Linked DNA regions of Homo sapiens: regions 1 and 3 are each linked to region 2. Evidence: promoter capture Hi-C in 16 types of primary human blood cells and fetal thymus (Javierre and others, 2016). All regions are on one chromosome and are shown on one strand. Each heading gives the region's core, a stretch centred on a gene start or on the middle of the fragment in contact. The rest is flanking DNA. Distances are from core to core; before and after follow the strand shown. Region 1 overlaps STAT5A (signal transducer and activator of transcription 5A). Region 2 holds the start of DNAJC7 (DnaJ heat shock protein family (Hsp40) member C7). Region 3 overlaps ATP6V0A1 (ATPase H+ transporting V0 subunit a1).

Region 1 (3,609 bases), core at 1,077-3,576, 290 kb after region 2:
GAAATGCAGGCAGGGGCTATAGGAGTTGTGCTTAGTTGTGAAGCCAAGAGCGAGATGACGGAGGGCCCAGGGCTGGGAGTCAGGATCCTTGGGTTCTGGGCCTAGATGTGTTTGCTAATTTTCTTTTTTTTTTTTAGAGACAGAATCTCATTCTGTCACCCAGGCTGGAGTGCAGTGGCGTGATTTCAGCTTACTGTAACCTCTGCCTCCCGGGTTCAAGTGATTCTCGTGCCTCAGCCTCCTGAGTAGCTGGAATTATAGGTGCCTGCCACCATGCTGGGCTAATTTTTGTATTTTTAGTAGAGATGGGGTTTCACCATGTTGGTCAGGCTGGTCTCGAACTCCTGACCTCAGGTGATCCGCCCACCTCGGCCTCCCAAAGTGCTGGGATTACAGGCGTGAGCCACCACGCCTGTGGCTCTGGCTCTCCTTCTGCCTCTCTCCTTGCTAATTTTTGAAGACCCATCCATTCTCTGTGCCTCAGTTTCCCCACCTGTAAAATGAGGGGATGACTTTGGAGGAATGACTTTGGAGGCCCCATCCAGCCTAGATTATTCTTTACACCTCTTACTCCCACCCTTGGGCTGGTCTTGGACCCCTGTGTCTTAGAAGTGAGTTTCCTCTCTGTTTTCCTAGGGTACAAGTTGGGGGCTGTGTCACTTTATGGTCTGCTGGAGTGTGGTGGCAAGCAGGGGTGAAGAACTGGGAGAAGACTGGGTGGGGGCAGGAGGGCCCTGACTTTCCTGGGCCACCTGTGACCTGGGGCACCAGCCCTGACTCGGGGGTTCCTGGGCCCTCAGGAGAACTTGCCGGGCTGGAACTACACCTTCTGGCAGTGGTTTGACGGGGTGATGGAGGTGTTGAAGAAGCACCACAAGCCCCACTGGAATGATGGGTAAGGAACGGGGGCTGCAGGGTCAGGGGCCAGCTGTGGGCGCAGAGAGACTGTGGCTGTGGCCCAGTGGTGACGCTCAATGCTCCGTGCACCCAGGGCCATCCTAGGTTTTGTGAATAAGCAACAGGCCCACGACCTGCTCATCAACAAGCCCGACGGGACCTTCTTGTTGCGCTTTAGTGACTCAGAAATCGGGGGCATCACCATCGCCTGGAAGTTTGACTCCCGTGAGTGCCCGTTTTGCCCACACTCCAGCCCCAAGGCCCGGTCTCTTGTTCCCTTGCCCCGCCACCCCACCCTCCATCGGGCCTGTGTCCTTAGAAGGTACCCAGCGGGAAGCTTAGTATGAGAGGGCTGTGGCTTGGAAATGTATTCTCTTTCTATTGTTTTCCATTTTGGAGAACCTGAAGTCCCCAGCCCCATAGACTCCAGGACGGCTGGGCGAGTCCTCCTGCAGTTTCACGCTCTCCCCTCTCTGCCACGACCCAGCCTTGTTGGTATCTGCTCATCTGGTTTGCTGAGTAGAACATCCCGCATCGGCTTTCTTCCCTACAGGCTGGGGCTGCAGCGCAAGCTACTATATAAAAGCCCAGATTTCTCTTGCAAGCCTGCCCTAAAGCCCCACAACCTTGGTCCTCCTGCTGCTGGTGGATTATGGGAATGAGGCTGTTCTTTTCACAGCGGAACGCAACCTGTGGAACCTGAAACCATTCACCACGCGGGATTTCTCCATCAGGTCCCTGGCTGACCGGCTGGGGGACCTGAGCTATCTCATCTATGTGTTTCCTGACCGCCCCAAGGATGAGGTCTTCTCCAAGTACTACACTCCTGTGCTGGGTGGGTACTGCCCCAGGACCCTGCCGGCTGACTCCCCCGGGCTCTTCCCCAGCCCATAGACAAAGCCTTGGGCTGCGCCGTGGGGACTTCCCCAGGAGGAGCCTAGGGGCCATGTCCCCTGTGGGTTTTGGCCCATGGGGTGGTGGAGAGGATTTCAGGGCTCACAAATGAGGAGAGGGAACGAGAAACCCGTCCCAGCTCTCTTCTCTGCAAAGTGAAAGCTGCATGGATTCTCACTTCTGCACCCTCGGAGGAAGGGGTGGCAGCACTGTAGGGAGTGGCCGGGATCATTCGAGCCCACAGATAGTGCTCCGCTCCCCACCTCACCAGCTGCTCTCCACACCCTGCTCACAAACCTTCCCCCGAGTGGAGTGCAGGCAGCAAAAGGGAGAAGTCTCTCTTCTTCCAGCTGCCCCAAATCCATTGGTTGGGTTTGCTTGTTGATTCTCATTCTTTGACAGGGGTGGGAGCAGGGAGAGGGAAATCAGATGGCCAGAAAAAGAACCAGAAGGAATGGGATTCAAGCCAGGGGTCTCAGTGACCCTCAGGCAGGATTCATCAGCTGGTGTTTATTGGGGGTCCTTGGGAAATCTCATCCCAGCTGAGAACACAAGGTGATGTGAGCAGGAGGGAGACTACATGGGGCGTGGGCTTCCACCCCACTTGGGAGTTCCCAGAGACTTTGGTTCTCACCACTGTTCTTCCCTTGACAGCTAAAGCTGTTGATGGATATGTGAAACCACAGATCAAGCAAGTGGTCCCTGAGTAAGTGTCCAGGTGGCTGTGGCTCTCCTTCTGCCTCTTTCCTCCTCCCCCAGACCCTGCCTCCCATCCTGATCCTGGGCCCAGCTTTCCGCTCCCCCAGGGAACCTGTCTCAGCCCTGGGGAGGGAGTCCCCTCTCCTGTAGCTGGAGCCCCAGGGCCGAGTGGGGCACTTTGTCCGTCTACACCCCGAGAAAGACAAACATGCCCCTCGGTCCCCTCCCCAAGTCAGCTGCCCCGGCCTCCCTGGTGGCTGAAGCTCTGTTCTCTTCCTTCTGCAGGTTTGTGAATGCATCTGCAGATGCTGGGGGCAGCAGCGCCACGTACATGGACCAGGCCCCCTCCCCAGCTGTGTGCCCCCAGGCTCCCTATAACATGTACCCACAGAAGTAGGTGGTGTTCTCATGGGGTCCGCAGGGGAAGAACTGGGGACTTGGCCCCAGGCTGGACTCCTGGAGGGCTGGCGGGCAAAGGATCCAGAGCTCTGGTTAGGCCCAAGTCCAGGAGGAGTGAGATCAGCCAGGAAAACAGAGCATTTTGAAGCTAGACATAGCAGGGTCAAGTCCTCACTCTAGTACTAACTGTGTGATCTTGGGAAAATGATTGAGCCTCTCTGATGCTCAAGTTTCCTTATGTGTAAAACGGAGGCAAGAATGCTTGCCTCATGAGAATGGGATGAGCATTAAACTGAGACAGTGTGGGTGAAGCATTTCCACAGGGAGGGGCTTGGAAGGGCTTGATACAGGGTAGCTATGAATGGGGTGGTTGTTCTTGAGTCTGGTGGGAACAAGGTAGATAATTAATTCCCTTCCTCACTGTGGATAGCCAGGGCTGGATGTCTGGGAGGTACCACCTTCCAGTGGGACCACTGAAGATCCCAGGTTCCAATCCGGACTCCACCACCTCCCAGCCAGGTGGCCCAGAGCAAGCTTCCTGATATGGCCTTGGTTTTCTCGTCTATAAAACGGGGTCAATACCCACTCTCCAGTTGGCTGTAAAAATTGGAGTCATGTGCTCAATAGGCTCAGCTGTTCTAGGTGCTCAGTGAAAAGATTCAGCTGTTCTAAGTGCTCAGTGAACGGGGCGGTGCCTACCATTGCAGCTGAGCATCATTG
Region 2 (3,379 bases), core at 858-3,357:
TGCTATCAAATACCATGTTTTGTGTGATGTGGTCACATTACAGCATAACCTATTTTATTATATGTCTTCAGGTTCATTTACTCCAATTTTATGATAGACTATCCTCTAAGGCTGTGATTGAAGAAATGTATTTGCTTAAGATAGGAGGCTATGAAATGAAGTCCAAAATAGGGACACTCTACATCAGAGATTTACAATGAGTAGGGTGAGTTTTTAAAATTACCTATGGCCAGCCCGGCACAGTAGCTCACGCCTGTAATCCCAGCACTTTGGGAGGCCGAGGTGGGCGGATCACGAGGTCAGGAGATCGAGACCATCGTGGCTAACAGGGTGAAACCCCATCTCTACTAAAAATACAAAAAAAAAACAACAATTAGCCGGATGTGGTGGTGGGCACGTGTAGTCCCAGCAACTGGTGAGGCTGAGGCAGGAGAATGGTGTGAACTCAGGAGGCGGAGCTTGCAGTGAGCTGAGGTCGCGCCACTACACTCCAGCCTGGGCGACAGAGCGAGATTCCGTCTCAAAAAATAAAAAATAAATAACCTGTGGCCAAATCCCTATTTACAGTATAAAGAACCACTGAACTCTTTCCAAATACAAGTAAATCTCTACAATTAATTTAAGCTCCGTCTGCACTGGGAGGAATTTTGTTTCCCATTGTGCAGCTCTTTAATGATGTATAAGGGTTGATGATGCTTAGCTTTAAATATCTAGGAAGAAGTAGGAACAACATGAAAGCTCAAAATTAAGAACAGAGACTGGACTCTGGTGTCCTGGCTTCTCTGATATCCCAGGGGCCTATTACACTTTGTCAGGCCCCTCAGCTCCCAGCAGATCAGGAACTTGAGATCTGGCTGTGGTAACCACCCTCAAGCTTGATAACTATTCATTGCGTCCGAGTACTTCTTATATTTCGAACTCATTAGATAGTAAAAATCTCAGAATCCTGATTTCAGATCTCATGAACTAATTCTACATCACCGCCTCAAATTACCCAGCCTGAAGACACAACGGGCTTGGTATGAAGATATAAAGTATGTTGCAAAGAGACTGAGGGCACTGTAGATATCTTGAACAAAAGGGTCAGACTAACCCGCAGCTGATAAGGAAAGGGCTCCAAACTTCTAGAACCTTCTTGTCAATTCTGCTTTAGGATTAGAACAAGTATGACTACCCACAACTCTGTTCCAACCCCACTTCCAATAATCTGGCCTAACTGTTGCCAGAATCTAGAGCGTTCTCGAAAACCACTCACTCAGCAGCTCCCTTGGCTAGTCCGACTGGCAATCTCGAACCACTGCGGCTGCTTCGGAGTGCCAACAGCGCCCAAGCAGTTGCCCTCTTCCTTGGTGCTTAACTTAAGAAAGAACAGTGCTGGGAAGGATAAAGATCACCCAGGAAGGACAGGGGAAGAGGAGTCTGACGTAGAGAACACGAGATAAGCCCCTCGCTCTTCCTTTTTTTCTCTGTCATCTTTGACTTCTGGGATAACCGGGGGCAACCAGGTCAATTATGGAGACACACAATCACTTCGAACCCAGACTAGTGATCGCTGGGGTATAATTACAAGGGAAAACGGGGTGAGGAGAGCAAAGGTTTTGGAGACGGAAAGTGCAGACAGGCAACAATGCACAGAAGTTAACAAGAGAACGCGGGGGTCGGGGGCGATGTAAGGAAGTCGTCATCGACGCCGCGCCGCTTCCCCCACCTCGCACCAGACCTCTGAAATTGCCCTCGGAGACTCGGCCTCTCCTATAAGGACGATCGTCCTCTCAGCTGGAGAACAAGGCCATGCCTCAGCTCCTACGCCAGGCGGAAGCGGGAGAGGAAGGCCGACCCCCAAGAGCGCCCCTTCAGGGGGTCCATCCGGCCTTGATCTCAGATGGGGGGGTGTTTGCGGAGGGCGGGGCATCGCCTCAACAGCTGGGGGCTGCATCATGGCAGGAACGAGTTTCCCTGAGCCACGGAGCTGCAGGTCGCCTCCTCTACTACCCTGCTACCCGGTTACCTCTTCGCCTCTTGGTCGTCGAGCAGCTCCGGCTCGGTCGCCGCCATTACCACATCGCACTCCGCGGCAGCCGCCATCTTACCGCCGGGACCAGAGAGCTGGGTGGGAGGCCGGCGGTGAAGAGCACTTCCGGTTGGAGCATAGAGCAGCTCCGCGGCGCCGCGCCCAGAAGGGCTCCCTCGGGCTCGTCTACCAGAGAGAGGCTCCGCTTGGGGCCAGAGCGGCCTCCCGCCCCCGGATGTCCACGGTGGTCTCCGCGCCGGGGCGGGAGCCCAGGGGCTGTGCCGGTGCGTAGGCGGCGCCACTTTACCCGTGGGTGGGAAGGCGGGGTGTACCGGTGGTAGCCTCTCTAGGGCTTGGCTGCTTTCAGTATTCCAAGAGCCTCATTGCCATAGCAACTTCCAATCCTAGAGAGTCTTCCTGAAAGGCTCCGTGGAGTCTGGGTTGCGTGGGGACCAGGTGACCCAAGACTCTGTAGGGAAGGAGTCCCCACTGCTACCTTTCCGACCTTGGAGTGTGTCCACAGCTTCTTCCCGGGAAAGTCAAGAGACACTTTGAGCTCAGTTCCCCCAGCTTTCATCGTTCTCTGGAAGCCCTGCCCAGTCAAGCCAGGGGAACGCAGGGCGTCTTCACCCTGCGCCTTTCATCCACTCCGGATCTCCAAACACCAACTGGTTCATCACCCTAATGACGCTGACCCTTTTACAAGGCTCCTTTCATGTCAGCCGCCTGGGAGTGCCATCTCAGCATTAAGCCTAGGAAAGCTGACACATGGCGCCCCAGACCCTGCCCTGGAGTTTATAAGGAAGCTCGCGGGGTGAGGTCCTTGCTCTTGTGTCCCCAGTACTCCCACCTCTTATATAAACTCTCTACTCATCACGCTTGCCTTGCCGAATGCGGTCTGGATTGAGAATTCATAGGGGACAAGGGCACAGTTTAACTGTCTTTGTTGTTATTCCCTCACCCAAACGACTATTTGTGGAGCTGAATTAAATTGGAGCTTTCTGGGGTTAAATTGGAGGAGTATGAGGAGTAGCTTTACAATGTAAAGCTAAGAGTAAAATAAGAAGAGGGCAAAGGAATTTTAAAAGGATTTACCTGTTTGTTCCAGGAAAACAGCATGTGCCAATGCTCATACTCTGCCTATCCCAGTGTGGAGGGAGCTGAAACCACAGCGACCACTGAGTAGGGAGGGATAGGACAAGCTCACTAGGTTGGAAAGGAGGGGTCATTCGTTGAGCCAATCACTCAGCCCTTTCCAAAACGCCTACTCTGTGCTAGGTTGTGAGGGCACAAGACTTACAGACCACCTGCCCTGCCTGCCAGTGGCTCATAGTCCAGTCTAATGCTAGCCAACCTGTCTCACCATCT
Region 3 (3,213 bases), core at 635-3,134, 500 kb after region 2:
GTAGACCTGGCTTCCTCTGGCCTGGCTCTCTCCCTCCTGGCCTCCCTCCTCCCCACCCAGCTCATCTGGCTGGCCTCCCTGTTCTAAGCTTATCAGCCGACCCCCGCAAGCACACTTCCTCAGCCCTCCTCAGTGCACGAGAACCTCTGAGGACTCACTTTTTCTTGCCCCTTGGCCTCCTTTCTTTTCTTTTCACTCCTGTCTCTTGAGCCCTGGGTTTGAGGGAACAGTGACCACCTCACCTTGATTCCAGCCCACGTGGGTAGCCGGTCATCTCCCTGGGCAGGGCGGGAGCAAGGCACTGTTGCAGAGCAAGGCCGCCTGGGCTTGAGCCTCATTTTGTTGCCAGAAGATTGCTTCCTCCTCAGGCTCACCTGTGGCCTCCCCGTGTCTTCCCAGGTCCCCCTGAACTGAAGTGATGAGTGGCAGGACAGCAGGCTCCGGAATTGGGCGACCTGGGTTGGAATTCCAGCACTGTCACACCAGGCAGGGAACCTGAGCAGAACATTCACTGCCAAGATTACTGTGAGCAAGTAGGAAGTAATGCACACACCAAGTGCTGCCACAGCAAAAGCAGGTGCTCTAGGATGGGTAGTGGCTGCTCTGCTTAAAAGTGGGATGCCCTTACTGGGTGCGATGGCTCACACCTATAATCCCAGCATTCTGGGAGGCTGAGGCAGGCAGATCACCTGAGGTCAGGAGTTCGAGACCAGCCTGGACAACATGGTGAAACCCCATCTCTACTAAAAATGCAAACATTAGCTGGGCGTGATGGTGGGCGCCTGTAATCCCAGCTACTCGGGAGGCTGAGGCAAGAGAATCGCTTGAACCCAGGAGATGGAGGTTGCAGTGAGCCAAGATCGCGCCACTGCACTGCAACCTGGGCGACAGACCGAGACTCCGTCTCAAAACAACAACAACAACAACAACAACAAAAAAACCTGGGATGCCCTAGAGAGAGGGTGTCTGCCTGGGGTCCCCCATAAAAAGACTGCTTTTAGCCTGTCTAGAGTGAGAGAAGACCCCAGAGGAGGCAGAGGATACCATCAGAATGCCCTCAGGTGCTGTTTGCAAGGAACAGCCTCCCCATATATGTCGTATTTATTTTGGCAATAGGAGTATTGGGTAGGAGAGGAAAAAACAGTGCAAACCTCCTTTGTGCAACTTCCAGAATCTCGTCTTTGGAGGGCTGTTCCCGTGACACGAGTGGGGCGCCTCCCCCACCACTAAAACAGAAGTGAATGAAATTGGTGCTTGTGCGCCCCCTCCTGGCAAAATGCGGCTGTGCGTCCAGGATGCCTGGATCTTCCCTGTGGCCCAGGACTGCAGGAGGCGTTCTGAGCTGTGGCCCTCTTACCAGGGGTGGAGCCTCTGGGGCTGCTGAACCAGCTGTAGGGATGGTGCTGCTGTTCTTCCTGGCATCCATCCTAGGCATCTTCATACCTCCCACTTTATCCCTGCTGTTTCCTGATTCAAGGGCTGCCCCATTATACAAGTTCTGGTCTCCTCAGTGGGGACAATAAGAAAAACATTTGATTCGATAACATATAAACCACTAGTGTGAGATTCATGCAGCATCATAGGAAGGGGGGTGATGTGTTTGAAAACAGTGAGCAGGCTAATGTATTAATCTGCTAATTCTGTCTCCTGAGTTTTCTCTCTTTTCCTCCCTCCTGCCACATGAAGTGTGCTTGGCTTCTTACCTACCATAATTAGACATCTTTTCTTCCTCAGAGAAGGCATGAGACAGGGATTTGATTGTAGTTATCACTGTAAACATCAAACTGATTTTTATGCAGAACTATTGCCCCAGGGCATACCTTCCAAGGAACCTGGTCTCTCCTTACCTAGCGAATTCCACATACACATAGATGTACACCTACCTGTACACTCACAGATTGGGTGGTGATTAAAGGGACAGAATCGGGGACCAGCTTCTTGTTAGGAATGCAGTGTTGCCACGGCATGACAGCATGGAGCAGTTGAGGGAATGGCTGCCCAGGAGAACTCAGAACTCTTGAAATGTAGTTCCAGGCTGCCATCATTGCCCTGATATTCAGGCCGTCAGACAGATGTGTGTTGTAGGCCCTGAACGGCACAGAGAGTGGCAGAACAGGCTACATAAACAGCTCAGCCCAGAATTGTCTTTCCAGACTGCCTGCCCTCAGTCACAACCCCCACCAGGGAAGGGAAGCGGCCCCAAGACTCCTTCCTCCTTCACCCACTCGAGGAAACAGAGTTCCTGTTACGTGGCATGAATGATGTCTTTTGGCCCCAGTTAATCCCTCTGAGTCACCAGGTGGCCTTTGCCAAGTGCTGGAGCTGGAAGAGATGATAGAGACACTCATCTGGCGTCCTGAGGCTCTCCTCACAGCTGTTGAATTCTAGAGGTGCATTTCAGTGTCTTGGGGCATGGCAAGACTTTGGAGGCTCCCTGAGCAGAGCAGTGGAGATGCCCAAAAAGAAGGAAGAACCTAGGATGGCAGATGGGGCCCCCCTTGCCCTGGGGAACTTCATGTTTGTACTTTCTCAGGAAGCACACATTTCCCCAGTTCAGCGGGAGAGAGTGGGGAGACTAGCAGGGAAATTGCTTTCCAGCTTTGTGCTGGGTGGTTGGGGTGAGGGTGGCCACGGAAGGAGGTGAAATCAGGCTGACCTCAAGATAGACCCAAGATGTCCCAGTTCTGGCCGCTCTAAGTCTCTAAAGCAGCAGCTGGTGGGAGGGGCAGTATTGGGCAGTATGTCAGGGAGGCCACCTGTCTGCTCACACAGTACAATTGATGTGCCCCTCCCAGGCATATATCCCTCTTCCTCCTTGCTGGGCCCCCATGGGTAGATAAGGTGACTGGAGGGGTGCCAAGAAAAGGGCGGTGCCCCCACAGGCATCTGAAAACAAAGCTGCTGCTCCATTTGCCCAGTTTGAAGATTAGAATGGTTTTGTGATTAGCCAGGAGGGGGTGGGGGTCAGAGTTCTGGACACCTCACTGGAGTCGGGGGTCAGCATACCCTACCAAGGCTGACATTCACTCCTAGGTAATGGCCTGGGACCCTCAGGTGACTTGTCCACTCTCTGGCTATGTATTGTTGAATGAAAAGGGGACATGTAAATCTCGTTTCAGCTGTTCTGAAATAACCCTTGCCACATGGGAACACAGTCTATTCAACATGAAGAATTCAAACCTAACACAAGTGGGTGAGAAGCAGGAACCCACT

Evidence for each region. Contacts are between HindIII fragments. The CHiCAGO score rates a contact against its expected background, and 5 or more counts as called.
Region 1: a contact is called between a fragment that was not itself captured here and the fragment with the promoter of DNAJC7 in region 2, in 1 of 17 cell types (fetal thymus). The highest score is 5.3, in fetal thymus.
Region 3: a fragment that was not itself captured here is called in contact with the fragment with the promoter of DNAJC7 in region 2 in 5 of 17 cell types (fetal thymus, erythroblasts, naive CD8 T cells and 2 more); the score reaches 7.4 in fetal thymus.

What each region holds. Positions count from the first base shown.
Region 1 is chr17:42,306,602-42,310,210 of GRCh38, forward strand. It overlaps STAT5A (signal transducer and activator of transcription 5A), which reads left to right. Exons shown (of 19, transcript NM_001288718.2): 14 at 801-895; 15 at 992-1,122; 16 at 1,577-1,732; 17 at 2,446-2,497; 18 at 2,776-2,883. Among named protein-coding and RNA genes, the nearest start is that of STAT5A, 20 kb to the left of the region's middle. The HindIII fragment of the contact is 2,189 bases long and covers 1,233-3,421 here.
Region 2 is chr17:42,015,332-42,018,710 of GRCh38, forward strand. DNAJC7 (DnaJ heat shock protein family (Hsp40) member C7) reads right to left here and starts at 2,108. Exons shown (of 14, transcript NM_003315.4): 1 at 2,009-2,108. The coding sequence starts at 2,085. It also overlaps a transcript of NKIRAS2 not described here. RefSeq lists enhancers at 1,317-2,516, 1,627-1,676, 1,747-2,156 and a silencer at 2,267-2,416. The HindIII fragment of the contact is 9,207 bases long and covers 873-3,379 here.
Region 3 is chr17:42,516,373-42,519,585 of GRCh38, forward strand. The region is part of intron 21 of ATP6V0A1 (ATPase H+ transporting V0 subunit a1); the gene reads left to right. Among named protein-coding and RNA genes, the nearest start is that of MIR5010, 3.8 kb to the left of the region's middle. RefSeq lists an enhancer at 235-734 and a silencer at 1,178-1,227. The HindIII fragment of the contact is 3,596 bases long and covers 87-3,213 here.